Linked DNA regions of Homo sapiens: region 2 is linked to region 1. The links are contacts of gene promoters, found by promoter capture Hi-C in blood cells and fetal thymus (Javierre and others, 2016). All regions are on one chromosome and are shown on one strand. Each heading gives the region's core, a stretch centred on a gene start or on the middle of the fragment in contact. The rest is flanking DNA. Distances are from core to core; before and after follow the strand shown.

The links. Contacts are between HindIII fragments. The CHiCAGO score rates a contact against its expected background, and 5 or more counts as called.
Region 2: a contact is called between a fragment that was not itself captured here and the fragment with the promoter of MBL2 in region 1, in 2 of 17 cell types (fetal thymus and megakaryocytes). The highest score is 6.1, in fetal thymus.

What each region holds. Positions count from the first base shown.
Region 1 is chr10:52,771,534-52,775,931 of GRCh38, reverse strand. It overlaps MBL2 (mannose binding lectin 2), which reads left to right and starts at 3,148. Exons shown (of 5, transcript NM_001378373.1): 1 at 3,148-3,195; 2 at 4,288-4,398. The coding sequence starts at 4,297. The HindIII fragment of the contact is 7,250 bases long and covers 1-4,398 here.
Region 2 is chr10:52,214,502-52,218,899 of GRCh38, reverse strand. All of the region lies in intron 9 of PRKG1 (protein kinase cGMP-dependent 1), which reads right to left. The region is part of intron 1 of LOC124902425 (a long non-coding RNA gene); the gene reads left to right. Among named protein-coding and RNA genes, the nearest start is that of PRKG1-AS1, 97 kb to the left of the region's middle. The HindIII fragment of the contact is 588 bases long and covers 2,020-2,607 here.

The DNA of each region.
Region 1 (4,398 bases), core at 1,899-4,398:
TATTCCTGATGGTCCTCACTTGGAGAGCAATAACATTCTCATTGCTATTGTCCTACTCACAGCAGCTCTGTGGAAAAGGGAATGAGGTTCAAAATCTGATTTGAAAGATGTAAAACTGAGGTTCGGCCAGAATATGGGGTCTATCTAAGCTCATATTCATGAGACAAAACCAAGCCTTCTGGTTTCCAATCTCAAACCATGCCTCTCACATGGAGCCACCCAAGAACACTGCTTCCCAAGCTGAGAAGACTCTTGAACAGTCACCCTGGAGGGAATGAAGGCCTTTCTTAAGCAGGCTGTCATGGTGAGCCACGTGCCATGCACTCTGAATGTGGACCAGTTAAGGACACACCACTCCACAGCCAAGGCAGCGGTGCCCTCTTTCCCAGACGAGGAAACTGAGGACATGAAGGCAGTGGAACTTGAATAAGGTCACACTGTTGGGAAGTGGGAGAGCTGGGATTTCACCCTAGTCTACAAAAAAGGGGATGTAGGGCACCAGGCAGTCCTCCTGCAGGTCAGAGAGGCAGTTTTCTCTGCAGCCTCTTGGGGTGAGGTGGATTTGTTGTGGCGCTGCCAGAATGGAAGCAGTGTTAGGAAAGTGGAAAGTTTTTTTTTTTTTTAGACGGAGAGGCTCTGTCGCCCAGGCTGGAGCGCAGTGGTGCAATCTCAGCTCACTGCAAGCTCCGCCTCCCGGGCTCACTCCATTCTCCTGCCTCAGCCTCCTGGGTAGCTGGGATTACAGGCACCCGCCACCACGCCCGGCTAGTTTGTTGTTTTTTTTTTTTTTGTATTTTTTAGTAGAGATGGGGTTTCACTGTGTTAGCCAGGATGGTCTCAATCTCCTGACCTCATGATCCGCCCGCCTCGGCCTCCCAAGGTGCTGGGATTACAGGAGTGAGCCACCACGCCTGGCTGGGAAGGGTTTTAAAGTCCAGAACAAATGCACACAGTGGCCTTATCTATGGGGTGGAGTGCAGAGTGGGCATTCGTGTGGAGAGAGACATTCAGGCTGCGGCATGTGGAGAGTGGCCTCTCCTTTTGGGAAAGGCCTTCTGGAGAGCAGGATGTAACTGGGTGACACTCCAATCTCCGGATCAATTGCTAGATTGACTTTCCCCCAGATACCCACACCCTCTGAACCCAGTTCTAGGAAATTTCAGGGTCTGGAGAGCAGTTTCCTGACCTCTGGACTAGGTAAACAATGAAAGCAAGCACTGTGATTAAAGCCAGCACCGCCAGTGACCTGGAGTCAACTACCTCACCTCACCTTCTGCCACTGGAGCAGGAGCAGGGGGAAGCTCTGGCTGCTAAAGAATAAGAAGGGAAACAAGTCTTCTCAGGCCCTGTCTTCTTTAGGCCCTGGATCTCCTGATATCCACTGATGGCTTTAGGCATGTGGCTCTGTACCATCCTGGACATTTTTCCAGGCACAGCAGACAGGTCAGCAGGAAGTAAGGAAGCCAGTCCCTCCACAAGCCAAGAAGACTTCAATTGGAAGGGACCTGGAAATGCATCTTACTCACATTTCTTTTGGTGTTTGGAGGCCTCCATAGTACCCCCACCACATGGCCCCGCAGCCTCTGAACTTCTCAGGATGGGCTCCCCAACACCCCAAGCTACATGGCATTTTTCTGAAAGCCATATCAGTAATGTAGTTGAGAATCAAATGAACTATGTTCGTAAAAGTATTCTTCCATCCCTTCTAGATTGTCCCCATTAACCACAGCAAGATGGTTCAAGCCATTAACACACACGATACCCATGATCTTATAGTGCCAAGTGCTGTTCTTTTGCTTCTTATCTCAGTTGAGTGGCTCCTAGATAGTCAAGTCATAAATGTGTGTGCCCATGAAAACTTCTTATTATCACTCACTATTCTAGCTAATTCTCAAGTGCAATCAATACCTCCTGTTTCTCAAGTGTGCCTACCTTCTTAATCTAGCTGCCATTACCCTGACCCAGGCCACTGTCTTCTGCTGCTTAGATCATGGCAAGCACTTCCTTTTAGATCTGCTTTTCTCCAGTCCTGTTCCCCTCAACATCATAGCCAGAACAAGCCTTGCAAAATTCAAATGTGATCACCTCTCCACTACTGCAGTCCCTCTAGTGCCCCCTGGAAGGAAACCCAAAGTCTTTAACACAGTTTACAATTCTTGTTATGAGGATGAAATTTGAAGACATTGTGCTAAGTGAAATAAGCCAGATACAAGGGGGCTATTGTATGATTTCACATATATGAGGTACCTAGGATAGATGAATTCAGAGAGACAGAAAGTAAAACAGAAGTTACCAGTGGCTGTGGGTAGGGGTAAATGGAGAATTCTAGTTTAATGAGTTGAGAGTTTCAGTTTGGGATGATGAAAATCATCCCATGATGTGGTGATGATAGCACAACCGTGTGAATGTACTTAATGCTACTGAGTTGTGTGCTTAATAATAATGGTCAAAATGGTAAATTTTATGTCTATTTTACCACAATGAAAAACTGGAAAAGTAAAGTCAATGACTATAATATCATAAAGTGTAAGTAACATGAGAGAAAATAATTCAGGCTAAGAGGATAGAGACTGCTAGGTAGGACTATTTTAGAATAAGTGATCAAGGTACTGATTTCTCTGAAATTGGAATATTTGAATAGAAGAGAAAGAGCTAGCTGGCGATGCCCGTAAGGGGTCCAGGCATGGAGACATCAAATGAAGAGTCTGAGGCAGGAATGGCCTTAATGCATTAATGGCAGCAAGAGGTCTATGTGGTTTCATGGATGGGTGTGTGCGTGCATGCACGTGTCTGTGTGTATAGTTGGTGTGCATGAGCATGTGTATGCATTTGTGAGTATCTTTGTTTTTCTGTTGGAAACAAGGATGTCAACAGGACTAACTAGGTGAACCTAGCTGTGGTAGTTCAGCAATGAGATTTGCCAAAATGGATGGCAATTGAAAGAGGAATTGTGCTGTATTAAAGCAGACAGCTGCCGAGCACTGTATTGGAGGCTCCTAAATTTCTCATAGTTCTGAGAAGAGCTGTTTATTAATCTGGAGTTGAAGGCCAGGCCCAGGATATCCTTGTTCACAAGGTTGATTGGGCCCTACATTGCTGAGCCCAGCCTCCTCCCTCACTCTGAGGCATCTGCCAGAGCCCCAGGCTAGAGGGCCAGCGTCCTTGTCACTGAGTCCCTGCTCTGCAGAAACACCAGTAAGTCATTTCTGGTGAATAAATCTGGGTTTCCGGATCAAGGGTTTGGGGAGCTGACATGACCCTGGAGGCATGGAGGAGGCTTTCTAGGGGTGGGGGGAGTGGGATGGAAAGCAGAAATCAGGTTGAGGATGTCTCTTTTTCTGCTTGTGCTGGAGCATCTGTGACTTTCCTCCATTATCTGTTCATCTGCAGTGGAGACTGTCTTTGTTTTCAAAGGGAAACTTGGAGGCTTAGACCTATGGGGCTAGGCTGCTGAGGTTTCTTAGGGGGCAATAGCTGGAAGAAAGCTCTGAAGAACAAATGAAAGGTTAATACTGAGAAATGGGAGGAGGATTCAAGGCAAGTTTTCTAATTGCCAGTGGTTTTTGACTCACAGAACATGGGGAATTCCTGCCAGAAAGTAGAGAGGTATTTAGCACTCTGCCAGGGCCAACGTAGTAAGAAATTTCCAGAGAAAATGCTTACCCAGGCAAGCCTGTCTAAAACACCAAGGGGAAGCAAACTCCAGTTAATTCTGGGCTGGGTTGGTGACTAAGGTTGAGGTTGATCTGAGGTTGAGACCTTCCTCTTTGGATCACCAGCTTTCAGCTCAGGGCCTGCCAATGAGTAAATGATAGTTAACAGGTCCTGGAGGGGAATCAGCTGCCCAGATACAAAGATGGGATTCAGGTGGCAGATGGACCCGAAGAGGACATGGAGAGAAAGAGGAAGCTCCTACAGACACCTGGGTTTCCACTCATTCTCATTCCCTAAGCTAACAGGCATAAGCCAGCTGGCAATGCACGGTCCCATTTGTTCTCACTGCCACCGAAAGCATGTTTATAGTCTTCCAGCAGCAACGCCAGGTGTCTAGGCACAGATGAACCCCTCCTTAGGATCCCCACTGCTCATCATAGTGCCTACCTTTGTTAAAGTACTAGTCACGCAGTGTCACAAGGAATGTTTACTTTTCCAAATCCCCAGCTAGAGGCCAGGGATGGGTCATCTATTTCTATATAGCCTGCACCCAGATTGTAGGACAGAGGGCATGCTCGGTAAATATGTGTTCATTAACTGAGATTAACCTTCCCTGAGTTTTCTCACACCAAGGTGAGGACCATGTCCCTGTTTCCATCACTCCCTCTCCTTCTCCTGAGTATGGTGGCAGCGTCTTACTCAGAAACTGTGACCTGTGAGGATGCCCAAAAGACCTGCCCTGCA
Region 2 (4,398 bases), core at 1,064-3,563, 560 kb after region 1:
AAATTATTAACATTATATTATGGTTAAACAGTTTAGTTTAAAATATTAATTAATGAAGATAAGACTCATAAACACTAATTTCATTTCATGGGAGGCCCTGAAAACATTAATGGCTCTTTTGCTCATCAAACACTTTGAAGGTATCAAAAGGGAAATTTACCTTGAAAAAGTATCCTAATCCCTATAAATTTTTAATTTAAGAATCCAGAATAAACACTGATTTTTGCAACACAATTTTCTAAAGTAATGAGTGTAGAATTTATATAATTTTTAAAAGTCTAAATTGTTTAGAAGTTAAGACTTCTATTCAGGTTGGAGAATACTGCCTTGGCTGTTGTGAACCAAAATTTTGTATTGCGACTATTCATACAGTTGGGTAAGTTTATGTTGAATCAAAAAGAAATTGGGTCATACTTGATAAGGTTTTAAAATATCTTTTTTAACCAGAAGCCTAAAAACATTTAATAATTTCTGCTTGTCCCTTCTGTTGTCATCTAATTGCTTTTTATGAGAATTTCTTGGATTCTGTCTCTCTATATGGCCTTGTGCTTGCTACCTCAATGCCAGGCAAAAGAGCAGCCCCTTTGATGGATGTCAGCTGTTAAGACGCCTTAGTTCATTCTGTTTTTACCCACTCCCCCAAAACCAAAAAAAAAACTGTAACCTATTTTTCTTTTTTTTTTTTTTTTGAGATGGAGTCTCGCTTTGTCACCCAGGCTAGCGTGCAGTGGGTGATCTAGGCTCACTGTAACCTCTGCCTCCCAGGTTCAGGTGATTTTCCTGCCTCAGCCTCCTGAGTAGCTGGGATTACAGACGTGTGCCACCACGCCCAGCTAATTTTTGTATTTTTAGTAGAGACAGGGTTTCACCATGTTGGTCAGGCTGGTCTTGAACTCCTGACCTTGTGAACCACCTGCCTCGGCCTCCCAAAGTGCTGAGATTACAGGTGTGAGCCACGGCTCCCAGCTGTAAGCTATTTTTCTAAACCATTAATTTCCTAAGAGAAGCCATTGGAATGAGAGATAAAATAGGAGTTTCATTTATTATGCAAATTATAAGTAGAGAGTAACGGAGGAAGGAAAAGAAAGGCTAGCCACAGTGTCATTATTAAAATATCCTTTGTGATGATGTCTATACTACCAACAGGGCTGAGGTCTGATTTATCTCCCAGCTAGTACATTTGCATCAGTTGCCCAAGCCACCAATGAAACTTGTTTCCATTGTCTCCTATCCAGTAGGAGACAGCACATTTGTCAACCCATTGTATATTGTTTAATCCTTGCTATTTGAGTAACTGTAAACCTGGGTTAATGCTTGCTTGTAGTTTCTATTATTCCATATTGAATAATTAAATCTAAATCTCTCTATGTACCATTTGAAGACAGGGTGAAAATATTGTTTGACGGTAGGGTGTACTAAAATTAGAGTGATGTGGTTTGCTTTAGTTCCTAGACTATGAGATTCATTTGACACTAATCTAAAAAAGAGAGAACTCTACTTATACATATATAAGTGTGTGTGTGTGTATATGTGTATATATATATATAGATAGATAGATATATAAATGTGTACGTGTGTGTGTATATGTATATTTACCCCGCACATCTCTCAGGATAACTCTAGCCTCTCCCAGGATATGTACTTATTCCTCCCCAATTAAAAATAAACACAACAAAAGGAAGTAGGATAAACTTACTCCTTAGTAGGCTTACAACTAAGAGGTGGAAGGAGGCAAGGTCAGAAGAGCCTTGGGTGCTATTTTGGAAGAAAGGGAAACAGGGCCTACTTAACCACCCTTCCATGACCTGTGGTTTGAGAAACACAGCTCTGAACAGTTCCCACACAACAGCTGTTTTTCCGCATCACCATCAGACAGGAAGTGGAATGGCACATAGAATGCAATTTATAGGATCTGTTCTCTCAGAAAGTGAAACAGGATCTCCAGGCTATTAAATTCACGGTGGTGCAGGAGCTGAACTCACTTATTAAACAGAATTGTCTGCCTAGTAAAAGAAAGCTTCCATTTGTGAAAAACTAAAAAGTTTTCAGAAGTATTATGCAAATAGTTAAGCAGTCACTGGGTTTAAACAAAACTTATTTTTAAAATTTAGAGACATTTTGATCCATTTAATTCTCAGAAAAAGATAACAAACTGATCTTAAAAAACCGCACCAAAACCTATGACTGTATAAAAACCAAAGGCTCTATTCCCTCTAGGACCATGCAAGAAATGGCATCAGAAATTCCAGCCACATTTAAAATAGGAATCAAAATCTATCTACAATGCTCTGCAGACCTGGCTGTATTAACTGCATCTAATTCTGGGGCTAAGCTAATACTAAAAGGTAAAGATGAGAAAATAGGTAATGTCCATTTTAATAAACAGGTATTTTTCTATTTTGGATGTTCCATCTAACTCTGACTATTCAATTAAAGTCTTATTGTCAAAACTCTTTGCTCTGCCAGTGTGATTTGATTTTGAGTCTCTTGCAAAATCCATGTGCAATTATTTCCCTGGCATTCCGGTAGCTATCTGCTGGTTTCCCAAAAGATCCCCAGCCCAGGAGCCTGTTGACTGAAGTGATACCTCTCCCAGAGTGAGAAGCTTAGTGTCACTTGTGTTCCATGCATAATTTTTTTGATTGAAATGAAAATTTAAGCTTCCATGCTGTGCTTGGCAATCCTTGTTTAAGAAGTGTCTAAGAAGAGTATATTCAAGAATGATCAAAAGAACCATCTGTAGTCCAAACCAATAGCTCCTTTGCATTCTTGGAAGCAGTCTGAAGAATCTCCCAAGTCTGCTAGCTCTCTTCTTACTTCAGTAAATTTATGAGAAAGTAATAGCCTCAGGGTCTCTGGGTGTACAGTTTGCTTGTTTCCTTTGCCATTGTCTCCTTAGCCACTTTATGTTTCTTGAACAATTCTATGAGGATGAGTATATTCTCCAGATGGCCACTGGAGGGCACAAAAGTACAATGTTTGCCTTCAAGTTAGGCCTTTGTGGTTTTGTTCTTCATGTGAAACATAATCTATGCTTAAGATATTCAATTAGATATGACATTTTCACTTTTAGAGCACAACTAGTAAATATCTACCTTATCATCTACCTCTTGTCAGTTATATTCTGAATGAGATCAAAACCAAAAGTTATGTTTCTAACATTACTATTATAAAAATGTATATTAATATATTTTCATTCCTTTCACCTTTCATATTTTAAAGTTATCCATCCAAATTCATGATTTGAAATTTTCACAAGGAAATTGTTTCACTTTGAAACATGTATGAATGTATGAATACCACCAAAGTGTATTCAGACATCTTCCCATGGGGAAAAGAGAAAATATTGAGGTGATATTGAAAAGTACACTGACCTGAGATGCACAAAAGAAAATACTTTTATTTTCTTGTTGCTTTAACTATCTAAATGCCTGTATATCTCGCTTTATAGCATAGAATGCTTATAGCAAGTCAGCTTCAAAATATACTTTTTTTTTTTTTTTTTGAGATGGAGTTTTGCTCTTGTCGCCCAGGCTGGAGTGCAATGGCCTGATCTTGACTCACTGCAACCTCCACCTTCCAGGTTCAAGAAATTCACCTGCCTCAGCCTCCCAAGTAGCTGGGATTACAGGTGCCCACCACCATGCCCGGCTAATTTTTGTATTTTAGTAGAGATGGGGTTTCACCACATTGGCCAGGCTGGTCTCAAACTCCTGACCTCAGGTGATCTGCCTGCCTCCACCTCCCAAAGTGTAGGGATTACAGGCATGAGCCACCATGCCTGGCCCAAAATAGACTTTGTATTTAGAATAATACATCTCTCCAAAATGGCATCTTCATGCTGGCATTTTTTTTTTTTTTTGAAAAAACTTTTATCATTATTTTAACATAAAAAATCATGTGAATTATTGCAGAAACTCTTAAAATGCATATTAAAGTTACATAATAAATAACCGTGACAATATTCAAAATGACCCACAAATTATAAAACCGGCCTACTGCTTTCATAGCAGAAACTGTTCCCTCAGTGAAAGGCCTCCTGATTGGTTACCTGCTCCATATCTTCTTCCTATTGTCTCTAGATTTAACTTTCCAAAGCACATAGTCATGTTAGCTGGGCTTTCCTCATTACATTTGTATCAAGTTGGAATTCCTTTGGGGGGCATTAATGGAACTTCGCTGTGTAATCTTTATCTGGCCTCTTTCTTCACAGCCACTCCTTTCAAACTTCATGCTCTAGTCTCATAGGGCTATTAAAGAATCCTTAAATGGTTTGTTTGTGAAGCCATAGCTACTATTTCTTTAGAAAATAAAAATAATTTCCAAGAGTAATTGTACTTACTGCATGCTAGCTACTACACAAAGTGCTATACATACATACTCTCAATCTCGCTCCAA